2 separate regions of the Homo sapiens genome follow, and region 2 is linked to region 1. Evidence: promoter capture Hi-C in 16 types of primary human blood cells and fetal thymus (Javierre and others, 2016). All regions are on one chromosome and are shown on one strand. The core of a region is centred on a gene start or on the middle of the fragment in contact, and the rest is flanking DNA. Distances in the headings are between cores, read along the strand shown. Region 1 holds the start of PEX16 (peroxisomal biogenesis factor 16). Region 2 has its middle 5.4 kb from the start of AMBRA1.

Region 1 (2,577 bases), core at 41-2,540:
CTCTCTGAACTGCCACAGATACACGGTCCCACCTCCTGGCCCTTTCTCTCTTGGCAGCCTGTTCCTGAGGGTCTATTCCACCTCCACTTTTCTTTTTTCTGAGTCGGAGTTTCACTCTTGTTGCCCAGGCTGGAGTGCAATGGCACAATCTCGGCTCACTGCAACCTCTGCCTCCCAGGTTCAAGCAATTCTCCTGCCTCAGCCTCTCAAGTAGCTGGGACTACAGGCACCTGCTACCATGCCCAGCTAATTTTTGTATTTTTAGTAGAGATGGGGTTTCACCATGTTGGCCAGGCTGGTCTCGAACTCCTGACCTCACGTGATCCACCTGCCTCTGCCTCCCAAAGTGCTGGGATTACAAGTGTGAGCCACTGCACCTGGCCTCACCTCTGCTTTTCAAAACCCAGTGCATTCTTTCAGGACTGTGACAGCAGTCACTGGGCAAACACTCTTGAGGTAGTTACAATCTGGGAATCCTGGAATCTGGGAGATCTAGACTTGAATCTTGGTTCTGGGACCATCAGTGACTGTTCTCTAACCTCACTGAGCTTCTTCCTTAAATGGACAGTGATGACAATAAGTACCACTTAATATGACTGTAGGGAGGATTAACAAGTAAAGGTAAGAAAGGCACTTAGTCCAGCGCCTGGCCAGTAGTGAATACTCAGATAAGGTCCCCAGACGTGTCTCTTGACTTAGGGACATGGAGGGCCCAGGACAATGAACAACAGACCTTGTGCCGATTCAGTCATAGCACAAGGTGTCTAACGGGCAGCCCAGGTCCTCGGGCTGGGGTGCTCACCCTCTCTGGGGAACTCACCAGGGGCCAGGCAGCCGATCCCCCATCCCCCACCCCCAGAGCCCGGCTCACCCAGCTCTGACAGCTCGTGCGAATCGGCGAATCGACCTGGGGAGAGGGTACAGAAGGAGGTGTGAGTGAGCATCTGCCTCACATTTCGTCTTCGGGTCCCGGAAATCCCCTCCCTACGCCCTTTGGGAACCTGGACGGGTCTTCTCAAGCACAGCGATCACTACCCTGACTCCGCAGGGAAGGGGGCCACTGGGGTCATAGGTCAGGGCCCAGAAGGAACTGATCAAAGGTCAGGGTGGCACCTGCCAGCAGGTAACTGAAGCCCCGCACTGCTGTCTCCAGCTGGGCCGTGGCGGCCGGGTGACGAGTCACGTACTCCTGGTAGCGGAGGCCCAGGAGCCGCAGCTTCTCCATCCTGCCCTCGGCACCGACAGACCCACAGAAGGACCGTACGACAGGCTGCGGCGCCCTGCTTCCTGCGCCCTCCTTCCTGCTTCCGGTCTTAGGCCCGCCTCTTGGTTGCTTAACTTCCGCGGGCCAGAAGGCTGAGGACTTGAAGAACCGGTGAACCACCCTTCACCCCATCTCTTGAACCGCTTCCCACTCGGGTAGCCCTTAGCAACTGAGGGCCCAAACCCGGCCCCCTACTCCCTCAAGTCATTGGTTAGCACGCTCTCCGCCCCTGACCCGCCCAGCGCCGTCAGCACCCAGCTCTTCCGTTTACCGGGTTGGCTGCCCTTGCGCCTGCGCAGTTAAAGCTCCGGTAAAGCCGGGCGGCAGTCAGAGCAGTTCATTCTAGAGAAGGGAGCTGGAGCCCCGAGTCTTTCCAATGGAACGCCGAGAGACTCGAACGGCAGGGCCGGATTTTAAAGGGCTGAGAGATAGCGGGTGCTTGAAAAAAGGAGCCTCGATCAGATTTGGGGAGGTGCGGGGCGTCTAAATACAGTTGCACTGTGTCTCAGCAGGCGCGCGTTCGGCCAGTATCCCCATCTCCGTTTCCTCAACAAAGGTAGTGCTGGGGAAACTGAGGCAGTAAGGAGTCCAGCCCTCTAGTGCCGTCTCGATCCCCTAGACAGCACAGTTAGTGCTCCGGCTTCGGCCTCAGCTCCCGTATGGACTGTGCCCCCCAAAGGGCTCGCGCCTGCATTCCCACATACGCGAAGAAAGCCCTGGCCCGGGCTTCTCTCGGCTCGGTGGCCCTTGGGCGGGAGTATCCCTTCTCTGGGTCTCGGATTTCCCGATCTGTAAAATGGTTTGAGGGCAGACTTGATCCTTGAACTCAGAATCGATCTCAGCTTTCTGGCCCTCGGACGCACCTCGCAGTCCTCAGCTGCGCCCCCAAGGGAAGGGGAGACCCCTGGGGAGTATCTTCCCAAACCAAGCAGCCTCCCTGGAACGGGTGGCACCGGGAGATCTGCGGCGAGTGGTGGAGGGAACGGGCGCTCTGGGGAGGTAGCGCTGATTGGCTGCGGGGAAAGGGGCGTGACATGGGTGGAGCCGTGGGCCAGTGGCCTGAGGGAGCGGGCCAGCGGATTTATGGTACCCTGAGAATAGTAATACATTATTTTACCTAATCCTCTCCACCAGATATCTCCAGATGAAGAAAGCATCCTTTTAAGAACGCCCAGCCAAAATTTGAGTGTTGGTCTTTTCTGACCTCAGAGACTAGGCGGTTTTTTTTAATTCATTTTTTTTAACTTTAATTTTATTTTTAGAGACCAGGTCTAAGCATCACACCTCACCAGGAAACCACAACCTTCCTTCCA
Region 2 (2,577 bases), core at 27-2,526, 680 kb after region 1:
AGGCTCTCCCTTCTTTGGAATTATTTCTATAAGATAAATCTCCAGTGATGAAATTTATCAATAGATCAAAATGTATGAATATTTTAAGGCTCTAGAATGACAAAGAAATCAGCCCATCTGTAAAAGACAGCATAAAGATTAGAGAAAGTTAACATGTCAACAGAATAATAGATCCTTAATGTTTTGCTGGGCAAACAGGGAGGCCCCTTTTTGAAATTTGCTAATTTATGATTTCAAAGTCTAATCTCCTTTCTCCTGTTCAGTATCCAGAGATCTAATTTCTTCTACTTTACAATCACAAGAGGCCTTCAGTTGTAGTCATTTTTTTTTCTCTTTTTTTTTTTTTGGAGTTTTGCTCTTGTTGCTGGAGTTGCAATGACAGGATCTCAGCTCACTGCAATCTCTGCCTCCCAGGTTTAAGTGATTCTCCTGCCTCAGCCTCCCTAGTAACTGGGATGACAGGCGCCCGCCACCATGCCCAGCTAATTTTTGTACTTTTAGTAGAGACGGGGTTTCACCATGTTGGCCAGGATGGTCTCGATCTCTTGACCTTGTGATCTGCCTACCTCGGCCTCCCAAAGTGCTGGGATTACAGGCGTGAGCCACTGTGCCCAGCCTGTAGTCATGTTAAAAAAAAAGTTTAGGCTGGGCACGGTACTTTATGCCTGTAATCCCTATAATCTCAGAGCGCTTCGAGAGGCCAAGGCAGGAGGATTGCTTGAGGCCAGGAATTCAAGACCAGCCTGAGCAACATAGTCAGACCCTGTCTGTACCAAAAAAAAATTAGCCAGGCATGGTAGTGTACACTTCTAGTCCTAGCTACTTGGGAGGCTGAGGTGGGAGGATCACTTGAGCCCAAGAGTTCAAGGCTGTAATAAGCTACAATCACACCACTGCACTCCAGCCTGGGTGACAGAGTGAGACCCTGTCTCTACAAAAGTTAATTTAAAAAAATTCAGGGCCGGGTGCAGTGGCTCACGCCTGTAATCCCAGCACTTTAAGAGGCCGAGGCGGACGGATCACAAGGTCAGGAGATCGAGACCATCCTGGCCAACATGGTGAAACCCTGTCTCTACTAAAAATACAAAAATAAGCTGGGCACAGTGGCACGTGCCTGTAATCCTAGCTACCCGGGAAGCTGAGGCAGGAGAATAGCTTGAACCAGGGAGGCGGAGGTTGCAGTGAGCCGAGATCGTGCCACTGCACTCCAGCCTGGGTGACAGAGTGAGACTCCATCTCAAAAAAAAAAAAAAAAAAAAAAAAAAAAATTCAGGGCCGGGCACAGGGGCATGCAATCCCAGCACTTTTAGGAGGCCAAGGCAGGCAGATCAATTGAATCCAGGATTTCGAGACCAGGTTGGGCAACTTAGCAAAACCCCATTGCTACAAAAAAAAAAAAAAAGAATTAACTGGGTATGGTGGTGTGTGCCTGTAGTCCCAGCTACTCGGAAGACTGACGTCAGAGGATCACTTGAGCCTGGAAGGTGGAGGCTGCAGTAAGCCGAGATCACTCCACTGTACTGCTCTAGCCTTGGCAACAGAGCAAGACCCTGTCTCAAAAAAAAAAAAAAAAAGGTTTTTTTTAGAACAAGGATTTCTGTGTGATTAAAAAAAAAGTCTATTAATTTTATGTGTTGGGAAACTAGCATGTCCCCAGCCTTCAGCTAGTATTTTTCCTTCCTTTCCACATAATCAACAAAGTCTTAATCCTGAATCTGTGATTTCTCATACCCACAACAATTTTGGAAAATCTTGGCAGGATCTAGAGAGCAAAATGGGCCCTGAGGACATGTGTATGCACAAAAACCCTTTCATTTCTTATTTTCTTGTCCTCCTTCTAACTTCCCCTCCACTGCCAGGGAAAGTAACTACGAAGCTCAGTCTTTGGGCTATTTTCCGTTTGTTTCAGATACAGATAAAATCTTATTATATCTATGATCTGTCTAGCCTCTTTCACCGTTACCCACTTCTTCTATGTCTTCACTACATGACTCCACTAAAATTGTGTCTTGTTTTTTATCCCTAAGTTAGATTAACTTGGTCTAGATCCTTCACAGTCCTAGGATCAGGAAAACAGCTTCATCCCTATTCAGTTAACTTAAACCAAGAATATGTTTATGGTCCCTCTTTTGTATAATCTGGAATTGGTAAATTGGTGATCACCCAATATTGTTTTCCCTTGATATATCCTGAGACCTTACTGCCTTGAAACATCTAAGGGTAAATCTGGAAAACTACTATGCTGGCCAGATGGAGTTATCTATGGGAAAATGAGGCTTACGTAAGACAGACAAAATCCTTGACTCTTTCCCAAAACCATGCCAGAAAAAAGCTATAAATCCACACTAAGGACCACAAAGGGAGCAGCTTTCTCAGACGCTTATAAAAAGCCCCTGTGAGGACACCCTTGGCAATTTGGAAGTACAGACCCTGATCCTTCCCCTCCATCATTTTGGGGAAATAACTAACCAATGACAAAAGAAAAAAAAAAATCCTGGCCTGCAAAACCACAGGTTGAAAGGAGGTTAAAGGTGTAGATCTGAAGAGTTTCCCTGTGGGATTATTAGAAAATAAAAT

What was found. Contacts are between HindIII fragments. The CHiCAGO score rates a contact against its expected background, and 5 or more counts as called.
Region 2: a fragment that was not itself captured here is called in contact with the fragment with the promoter of PEX16 in region 1 in 1 of 17 cell types (neutrophils); the score reaches 5.2 in neutrophils.

Annotation. Positions count from the first base shown.
Region 1 is chr11:45,916,587-45,919,163 of GRCh38, forward strand. PEX16 (peroxisomal biogenesis factor 16) reads right to left here and starts at 1,291. Exons shown (of 11, transcript NM_004813.4): 1 at 1,114-1,291; 2 at 872-907. The coding sequence starts at 1,225. RefSeq lists enhancers at 347-1,099, 1,046-1,115. The HindIII fragment of the contact is 21,028 bases long and covers 1-2,577 here.
Region 2 is chr11:46,598,098-46,600,674 of GRCh38, forward strand. No RefSeq gene overlaps it. Among named protein-coding and RNA genes, the nearest start is that of AMBRA1, 5.4 kb to the left of the region's middle. The HindIII fragment of the contact is 5,019 bases long and covers 1-2,577 here.